Linked DNA regions of Homo sapiens: region 2 is linked to region 1. Evidence: promoter capture Hi-C in 16 types of primary human blood cells and fetal thymus (Javierre and others, 2016). All regions are on one chromosome and are shown on one strand. Each heading gives the region's core, a stretch centred on a gene start or on the middle of the fragment in contact. The rest is flanking DNA. Distances are from core to core; before and after follow the strand shown. Region 1 holds the start of CCDC184 (coiled-coil domain containing 184). Region 2 overlaps RPAP3 (RNA polymerase II associated protein 3).

What was found. Contacts are between HindIII fragments. The CHiCAGO score rates a contact against its expected background, and 5 or more counts as called.
Region 2: a contact is called between a fragment that was not itself captured here and the fragment with the promoter of CCDC184 in region 1, in 1 of 17 cell types (erythroblasts). The highest score is 5.6, in erythroblasts.

The regions. Positions count from the first base shown.
Region 1 is chr12:48,180,167-48,185,226 of GRCh38, reverse strand. CCDC184 (coiled-coil domain containing 184) reads right to left here and starts at 1,583. Exons shown (of 1, transcript NM_001013635.4): 1 at 1-1,583. The coding sequence starts at 1,104. The coding sequence ends at 520. The HindIII fragment of the contact is 3,853 bases long and covers 1-3,840 here.
Region 2 is chr12:47,666,743-47,672,026 of GRCh38, reverse strand. RPAP3 (RNA polymerase II associated protein 3) reads left to right here. Exons shown (of 17, transcript NM_024604.3): 13 at 1,682-1,920; 14 at 2,925-3,111; 15 at 4,176-4,273; 16 at 4,947-5,047. Among named protein-coding and RNA genes, the nearest start is that of RPAP3, 37 kb to the left of the region's middle. The HindIII fragment of the contact is 1,123 bases long and covers 2,244-3,366 here.

The DNA of each region.
Region 1 (5,060 bases), core at 334-2,833:
AGCAGCCGCAGAGATCTGTGAGGGGGAGAGGCTTCTGCAGAGCACTGAATATCTTGGATTTCAGCAGAAGGGTAAATTTCCTGTTGCCAGAACAAAATACCCCCAATTCCTTAATTTCCAGGTAAATTGTTAGAGATTATTTGCCATGGTCCTAGGTAAGTCCTTTTTCAGAATAGAAAAAGCAGAATTTTATTTACACAATTCACGGGTTCTCCTGTTGTCTGGGAAGGGGGAAAGGACAGGATAGGGATGGATGGGAGTCCAGAGATGGGCGCTTCCTCTCCCGGAGCCTCACCTTTCCGCAGTTCGCTATAATTCGCTTAGTTGGGCAGAAAGAATTCTCGATGCTCCCAAAGTCCTTCACCCTACAAATCCTTCCTCGAGGGAGTCTCTCTCTGCCTGACCCACAAGAGCAGCTGTCCAAGTGAAGCATGCCGCACCGCGCCGTTCAGTCCCCCTCGCGTCATGCACTCGGAAACCCAAAGACAGCCCGGGAAGGTAGTGCCCCACGGAGTCCCCTCACAGGGAGGCCTCGCCCTCCAGTTGCAGCAGGGTAATGTCGGGCATGTCGAGGGGCTCCACAAGTGGCCCGTCCCCCCCAAGGAGACCAGCACAGGGGCTTTCGGGGCGCTCACAGTGACTGGAGGGTGTGGCGGGGCTGGGCATCTCCTTCTCTTCTTCCTCTTCCTCCTCGTCCTCGGGATCGCGACCCAGCAAGCCGCTGTCCCCGATCCCAGGCGAAGGAGTCTCCGGCTCTTGGGGGTCGCTCTGGAAGCTCCCCTTGCCGCCGACCACGCCCAAGCCGCCCTGGCGGGGCGCAGTGGTCATAATCTGGCACATGGAGACGATGGCTCGCTGGTTGGCGCACACGTCGTCCGAGAGCACCTGGATGTGCGAGGCCTGCTCGTCCAGGGCCCCCCTCATGGCCCTCACGTCCTCAAACAGGGCTTGCAGCTGGGCTTTCAGGTGCTCCATCAGTTCCTTCATGCCGCCGTTGTACTCCCCGGAGATCACGTCCCCCACTGCCGGCACGGTGGACACCTCCAGGGGCGCCGGCATGTCGCCGCCGTCCTTGGTCATGATCTCCAGCAGACCGTCCTCCATTGAGTGGCAGAAGCGGGTGGCGGAGGCTCTGGGTCGCGTCCAGCCCGGCCTCCGGGGTGGGGGAGGGGGTGGAGGGGGAGAGGTCCCGGGAGGGGCTAGCGGGAGCCGAGGGAAGCGGAGGCTCCCGAGACTGGCGGGGAGCCGACGTGAGAGACGAGTCCTGGGCAGAGGGCGCAGGCAGGATCGCGGGAGGCCGAGAAGAGGCTGCGGGACGAGGACCCGGCGAGGGTCCCAGAGCCGGCGTCTCTTGGGATCGCCCCGGGACGAAAGTGCCCTGCCCTGCCTCGCCTCCCGGATCGCGCCCGTGTCAGCGCCGCCCTCTGGGCGCCACAAGCAGAGAGCGCCTGCCGGTTCCGTGGGTCACAGACGCGCTCGCGGAGGGGTCCGCGTCCAGGCTGAGGCCAGCGGCGCGTCGGACTCGGGACTCCCCCAGGCCATTACCGGGCAGCGCCCGCGAGTGTGGCAGCAGCAGCTGGGGTGGGTCTCCCGGGGGTGTCGCGGATGCTCCTCTGTTTCCAAGGCGACGCACGGCACGTAAATGACGTGTGTCTCCATGGTAACCAGGAAGTGGCGAAGAAAAAGGGAGGATGGCTGGAAGCTGCAGTGGGGCTCTGGAGTCTGGACTAGCGGGGTGGGGGGAGGAGAGGGGACGCTACAGTGGCTTCGGCCAAGGCTGGAAAGAGCGTGTGGTCGCAATGTTTAATAGGGAAGTATGAGAGAGCCGTCTGCTGCAGAAACCTCCAAGTCCGGGAGAGATCGTCCCTCCCCTAGCCGGGGTATGAGACCCAGCGAGACTGCCCTGGAAAGATTTTTCCAGCCCGCATTCCTTTCTCAGAGGATGGCGCTAAAGTCGAGTCCTGCCTCCCTGTCCTCCAGCGATGCGCAGGAAAGCGGAGAGGGTAGAGAGGCTGTTGCTAATGATCCCAGAGTTGAGCTGGGGCACGGTGGCGCTCTGGAGCCGGACCCACCGGGCCTGACGGTGCAGAGGCAGGAGGAGGGCGCTACGGAGGTTTCTGCAGTAAATCAGCCCTCTAGCTATAGAAATCACCGGAGCGGGGGAAGGATGGGACTCCCTCCTTTATGAGACCCTACCGCTCCTACGCAGGTCTCTGGGAGTTTGTCCCAGATGGGGAGGCCAAGTGCTTAAGTTTTGAGAATGAAAGCTCCATAAGGGGAGAGATTTTTGTCTCCCCTGCACCCTCCATCACGGAATCCCCAGCTCCTAAAATAGTGCCTGGCACCTAGTATGTAGATGCTTAATATAGTTATTGAATGAATAACAAAAACCACCAAGTCCCACGCTCTCATCCAGAACTCCCCAAGCCAAACGTAGTGGGTTTTAGGAGACCTGAATTCAGTTTCGTTTCTGCCACTTATTCATTCAGCGACCTTGGCCACATCATTTTCCTCATCTGTTAGGGAATTGGACTGGATAATCTATAATACTATTTCTAATTCTGAATAACAGTCTGCATCATCTCACAGGTGAAAAGGTAAACTGTTGACCGTTGTGTGGAGGGTATGGATGGGGGGACTGTGTGTTAGAGTAATTCCCGCTCTCTCTTTCAGTGCCCAAGTTCAGACATACACTGAGTATCCCCAACCTTTGTGACAAGCCCTTTCCCTATTTAAGGGGTGGAGCAGGAAGGGTGGAGGAAGAAGAAAAATTGTCTTTAATATACGTAGATGATTGCAGATTGAGAAGGAATCAGCACCTGGGCAGAGCACAATAATTAATAATGACCCTAGGAAATTAGGGAAGCCAAGTGATCGGAAGCCAAAAATGAAGTTCATAAGAATAAATCTGGGAAAGAGAAACAAACTATATCACTTCAAGATAGAGAAGAACTACGTAAAGGTGAGTGTTTTGTAGACTGGCGGTTCAGTGACAGCAAATGTGTTACCTTTGGGTTTCCCTGGTTATGTGCTTGGTGATGAAGAGTGAGGCTGGCCCAGGGAAAGTTTTGTGACACTAGAGGACTGCTTGACCTATACCAATCTTACTGCTTTTAAAATAGAAACAAGTGGGGACTATCCTAAATGACCAGCAGCAGAATGTTTAAATAAACTAAGGCAAAATTGCTGATACATAAAGTATTATGCAGCCATTAAAAATTTGATTTCCCAAAACAAATATATGAACAAATTTTAAAAACACAGTATTGTATTTTCTGAAACTAATGATTCAATTCTATTTGCTTGCTCATTTCTTCCTTCATTCTACAGATTTCCAGCACTCTCACCTTGCTTAGGACTCCTACCTCTGCTCTGTACCCCACACGTGGTAATAACACCTTAGATTACTCCTGAAACTCTGGCTCAAGAGAGGACAGAAATGCTTTTCCTTGGTTTCCATAAGCACAGCTGAAGTGGGCTGGTGTTTACAAAGAGACTTTATTAAAAACTATAGGAAAACTAGAAATAGAAACAGAACACATGAAAACAGCTGAGCTTACACAGCATAAGTTTCTGATTATACTACAGCAAGCATGTTCTCAGGGCTTATAGGTCCAACCCTGCTTTCATCCTTCCGAGGAGAGCTCTGCTATAGCCAGAAAAGACTGGCATGGCTTTCAGACTTTCTGTCTAGGTCTGTTACTTTACATCTCTTGACAAGCACTTCACATGGAAGATTTCATCTTGCCAATTCACCCTTCAGGTATATCCCTACCTTCTACCTACAAAGAGTGACTCTGTCCCAGTGGGGGACCTCTCATTGTTGAAATCCCATAAGCTTACACTAAGCATAGCCCCCATACAGGAGGAGCTATGGTATGTCATCATACAAGGCCTTTTGCCACTATTCTTGAGGATGTGAAGGCTTTCAGCATAAGATTACATCATGCTGTCCAGAGGTGCTGGCCATGAAGTCCACTGAGAGTACAAGGGATCTGAGCCCAGAGGGAGGGGAAATTATTGGAGAAGCACAAAAGGCCATGGGAAACATGTGCAGAGATCAAGCAGTTTGGCTGGTCCAGTCAAGTTCCAGGTCAAACATTTGAGAGCCAAGGGTAGGTGGGAACTGGGGGAGTGGACCAGTAGCAGGATTTGAAAATATAGGAAGGTGGCTGGGTGCGGTGGCTCATGCCTGTAATCCCAGCATTGTGGGAGGCTGAGGTGGGTGGATCACTTAAGATCAGTAGTTTGAGATCAGCCTGGTCAACATGGTGAAGCCCTGTCTGTACTAAAAACACAAAAATTAGCTGGGCATGGTGGTGGGCACCTGTAATCCCAGCTACTCCAGAGGCTGAGGCAGGACAGTCGCTCAAACCCAGGAGGCAGAGGTTGCAGTGAGCCAAGATTGTGCCACTGCACTCCAGCCTGGGTGACAGAGCAAGACTTAGTCGAAAGAAAGAAAGAGAGAGAGAGAGAGAGAGAAAAGAAAGAAAGAAAAAGAAAGAAAGAAAAAGAAAGAAAAGAAAGAAAGAAAGAAAGAAAAGAAAGAAGGAAAGAAAGAAAGAGAAAGAAAGGGAAAGGGAAGGGGAAGGGGAAGGAAAAGAAAAGAAAAGAGAAAAGAAAAGAAAAAGAAAATATAGGAAGGAGACATTGGTGCATCTGATAGAAAACCAGATCATTTCAGGAACTCTGTGTGAAAATGAGATGAGGTAGAAAAGTCTAGTCTCAGGAAAATAAGGAGAATAAGGAGAACAGAGGCAGAGCCTCAGTCAGCTAGATGGGTTACAGGCCTGGGCCCTCTGGATCCCAATGCCCTATAGTTAGTTGCATGGGTCCATTTCCAAGCAAAAGGTGGCCAGATGTATACCCCAGCCATCCTACTAGAATATTCAGAGGAACTGCCACATAATAAGAGAATATAACCCCCGCACAGCTTCTGCTTCCTGCTTTTCTATTATCCTCTGGGAATCCCCTTAGCTATTCTCTTCATCCCACTCTTATCAATCTGTGATAGGGAGAGACCCTCATGCTATCTACATATAGGTTTCCATCAGGTACAC
Region 2 (5,284 bases), core at 1,556-4,055, 510 kb after region 1:
CCTTTGTTCTTCTCTCTCTCTCTCACTTTTTTTTTAAATGGTCACAATATACAACTAAATAAAATGTTACGCTTCCGAGTCATGATTTTAAAAAAGGAGTGAATTGAACCTTTCATATTTTCTTAAGTTCTTTCTATAGTGGTTTCTTTTATGGTTTACTCCTGTTACTAGCATACTGTTCTTCCCCACAGTCCTTCCAGCTGTCATCAGTGACCCTCAGTGGCTCTCAGTACCCCGGGTCTACACTTAACAGAGACCAATGATTAGGAAATTCATAAATTCAAATCATTATTTACATATCTGTTGTCAAGGATAGGGTTTAATACACATATCCATTCTTGATCAGTATCTTCATAAAAACTTTTGCTGATACAGTTCTTAGCAAAGCATAGGCCTTAACTTAATATGATTATTCTTTAAAATAGAACTGCTTGAAGAATTCTGTTATAAATTTTCTTACAGCTTTTTCATTTTTGTACCTTCGTTTAGTAACACTCATTTATTACCATTGGGGTCATATCTTAGCTGCATTAATGGAATTTCTGGTTTTAACATTGAGTTTGTTATCTATTGCAGAAGAAGAAGTGCTTATATTTACAACTTTTCAATTTATAATTCAACTATGTAGTTGGAATGTATACTTAGAGTACATTGAGGAAAGTTTTCTTCTCTTTTCTAAAGCTAAAACAAATTTCAAACATATACAAAAGTATATAGCTGCAACTGTTAATCAATATTTGCAAATTTTAGAAGAAGCTTTTCTTAACTTGTTTCATTTTTCAATGCCCTTGGTGTAACAATAGCTCCTCAGTGTATTTCTGTGTGTTTGGTATGATGATATAGTGAAGAATATTGTTATATTTTATTAGATATACATATATTATTAAATATCAACATAAGTTGAAAATGACACGTGTGTAGTGATTGAGATAAACAATGAAAGCCATTTATTTTATTAAATTGGAAAAAAGGGTTTACTTTTACCAACTTTGTGAATATTACTTGGCAGATTTTTAATCCTGGGCTAGTTTTATCCAGCTGCTATATATTGAGACAATGTGTTTAGGTTTTAATGATAGTCTATCCCATACATAATGCTGGTTATTGTCTGCCCTTATTCCACTTGCCTTCAGTTAGTCCACAATACTGCTGTTGGTTTGGTAATTTCTTTGCTGTATTGCCCCTAGAATAGAGTCCAGACTCCTTTCATGGCATCCAAGTCCCTTCATAAGCTGTCTTCAAACTGCCTTTGAGGCTTCATCTCCACCATGCCGTGCCGTGCACCAGCCCCACTGGACTTCTCACCTTTCCACTGACTGTGCTGCACCCTTCAACTTTGCCATTCCTGTGTGCTTTTTCTGTGAAGGCTTCCCTCATGCCAGTGTTTATCTTCCTTCCTGTGTTCTCTTAGCGTTTTGTGCTTTCATCTCTTAAACATGACCATGGCCTTATATATTTACGTATACATGTCTCTCTCCCTTGTTTCGACCTACCTGGGATAAGTGCTTTGTATAGCTTTTTATTTTTGTATTCTCAGACTTCTAAGTCTGTCTAGCCACCAAATTGAATTTACTAATCACTGGGATATTAGCTGTAAGATCATTGCAGCCTTTTAACTTGTGACCCTAAAATAGGAAACCTTTAATATTTTGATTTAAGGAATTGATTTTAATTGTTTTAGAAACCACTCAAGAAGGTTATTATTGAAGAAACTGGTAATTTGATACAGACTATTGATGTGCCAGATAGCACTACTGCTGCTGCTCCAGAGAATAATCCTATTAATCTAGCAAATGTAATAGCAGCCACAGGCACCACAAGTAAGAAGAATTCAAGCCAAGATGACCTTTTTCCCACAAGTGATACTCCAAGAGCAAAAGTATTGAAAATAGAAGAAGTCAGTGATACTTCATCCCTGCAGTGAGTAGAAATACTGTTATTTGCTGATCATCCAGAATGGGTTAATTCCAATGGAGAATTGATATTACTGAGACTTCTGATTTGTACTCATCATGCTAATTTTTTGAACTGCCTAACTTAAGTTTCTAGCTTTTCTTTTTTGTTTGTACTTATTGTAAGGGTGATTTTGCTTAAAGAATGATTACTATTTTTTTTTTAACCACAGTGTGAAATTTAAAGATAAGAAGGTATCTTGAAAATTGATTTTGTTTAAAAATTTTCATTTCTAGGATTTCAGTTTTATTATTTAGTTCAGCAAAATTTTAGTTTTTTAAAAGGAAGCTTCATAAAAATGTAGAATTTATGGATTGCCATTATTTCATCCATTAGTATTTAAGACTGTTGTGGACTCTAACTTTTGTTTGGCATTTAAAAAATAGTTTATGTGTTTTTTCTTGATAATGAGAATATAGAAGATATAGACTAATTAGGTTCATTTTGAGGTATGGAAACCTTACTCATATATTTTTACATTGCCACTCAACAAACCTGCTAAAAGTTGTTTTTTTCTTTTAAACTTTGAACTTTAGTAGTACTTTTATTTAAAGTGATAGTATAGATCATGGGACAATACTATATAGGCAGTTTTTTTTGGAAGAAGCATTTCTTCCTTTTTGGAATATCTTGAAAATGATCATTTAGATCTTTGAAAGGCTAAATCATTAGTGTATGTGACATGGTAATTGAAATATATAGAAATGGTATACTCAAAAGGTGGATAGGTTAGCTGCCCAGCAGAGGAGAATAGTCATTACATAGCCAGCATGTGAAAATTTGCAAGAGCATAATCTGTTTTGCCAAAAAATGTTTATATATTATTAGCTGAAATAATTGAATGCTTGTATAATACAAATAGATAATACAATATTAATAGTCAAAAATTTAAAAATTTTTATTGATGTCTCCTTGATTGAGCTATGATTATTTATGGTTCTTTTCTGTTTGATACCTCTGAAATATTTCAGACCTCAAGCCAGTTTGAAGCAGGATGTATGTCAGTCTTACAGCGAGAAAATGCCCATAGAGATAGAACAAAAACCTGCTCAGTTTGCCACAACTGTTCTTCCTCCAATTCCTGCAAACTCGTTCCAGCTCGAATCTGATTTCAGACAATTGAAAAGTTCTCCAGATATGTTGTATCAGTATTTAAAGGTAAGAGAGAGGAAGGTAGTACTTCTGTTGTAAGTAAAAGGTCAGAGAACTTCTGTCACTTTATAATAATGGTGCCGTATTTGCTTTTTATAGGATATTATTGTAGAAATTATTGTAGAATACATCACCCTGGTCAGACCATTTAAAAATATTTACAACCAGGGAACCTTGATGTTCTCCTTTGGCAATAGATTCTATGTCAAATTCTATTGTCTCAAATAACGTAATCTAATTTCATATATATTAGCTTAAGCTTAATCCTTCAAAAAAAACCCTAAAATACATTGAGTGTCTTCTGTGTGCCAAGCAGTGCTTGCAATATGTAGGCAATCATTCTTCTAATATTTGCTTTAAGAAAAAGAATCAAATCCCATGAAATTTAGCAAATAATGAATTAGCATGGTCCTTTTCAAGTGTAATGAGAGTAACATTTCCTAATAATTATGCAATATAAAATTACTTCCAAATACGTTTTCTCATGTAATTCTACTTTTAAAAATCTCTAGTTATATTTATTGCTCTTTGAGAGCCTTTAAAGTTTCCTGTCTCTCTTAGGATGGTGTATATCTCTTCTGCTCATAAGATTTTTCTGTGACTAGAATAGAGTGATTATCATGCAGTTCCTGTAACTTTCATTCTTCTATCATAATTGCATTTTAATGTGACTCCATTATTATTCATAAGTGCTAATGCATAGTAGTTATTCTTTTCTTTTTGTTTTGGACGGAGTTTTGCTCTTGTTGCCCAGGCTGGAGTGCAATGACGCAATCTCAGCTCACCGCAACCTCTGCCTCCCAGGTTCAAGCAATTCTCCTGCCTCAGTCTCCGAGTAGCTGGGATTACAGGGATGTGCCACCATGCCCGGCTAATTTTTTGTATTTTTAGTGGAGATGGGGTTTCTCCATGTTGGTCAGACTGGTCTCGAACTCCCAACCTCAGGTGATCCTCCCACCTTGGCCTCCCAAAGTAGTTATTCTTTACTATTTTTACCCAAGCAATTGTTGTGTAATTTGTGATATGTAAGTGTTGCCATCAAGTAATTGTCTTTTTATTTTTTTTTCAAGCAAATTGAACCATCTTTGTATCCTAAGTTGTTTCAGAAAAATCTGGATCCAGATGTATTCAACCAGATCGTTAAAATTCTGCATGACTTTTACATTGAGTAAGTCAAGTTTTTTTTAGTTATACAGTAAGTCCTCACTTAATGTTATTGATAGGTTTTTGGAAACTGCAATTTTAATTAAAATGATTAAGACATAGGAACATAAGTCTTGTTTATGTCAATTGGCCTATGGTAAAATTGGTTTGTTTATACAGTATGCCGTTTTACATAAAGTCACAGTTTTCCTGAACCTATTGATGATGTTAAGTGAGAATTTACTGTACTCTTATGATGCTATGCTATTTCCAATGATTTGGGAAGTTGATTCTCTTTGAATGTATATAGCAAATTAGCAGCATATAGCAAAGTTAGCTTTCTTGTAAGTTTCATTGTTAGAGAAGTTGCAAGGAAATGACAAGTACAGACAATAAAAAGGGAAAAGTTTAAAAGGGAGGAAAAAGGACTCTAATTTTTTTGTAGAGAAAAGTAGGGTATGGAAATGACCAGTGTTTTCACAGAATAATAGTTTCCGTACTAAGCTCTCATTTAAGAATATTGTAATTTCTTCAGTTGACTTGATAAATCTCTTCATTTGGGCATTTAAAATACAGGTATCCAGGGGAAAAAATGATGTCATTTATGTATAATTAGAAGTATTGTGTTAGTAAACAGAATTATTAATAAATGAGCTGCTTTTAACTGATCATTTGTTTCTATATTTGGATTATTTCAGGAAAGAAAAGCCATTACTCATCTTTGAAATCTTACAAAGACTTTCTGAACTAAAAAGGTTTGATATGGCAGTGATGTTTATGTCAGAAACAGAGAAAAAGAGTAAGTTCTATGAAAGTTTTCCCATGTTTATTTTTGTACATTCCTGTATTCATTCAACAAATAATAGCTGACATTTATTGACTACTTATTGTGTATAAGGTTATATTTAATTAAATATTTATATTTAAATTGGATGATATTAAATTATATTTAAGTTAATTAAATTGGATAACAAGAACAGTTAAAATTGTTTTGTTAGTCCTGACAATATTATGAAGTGTAGGTACTGTTTTCACT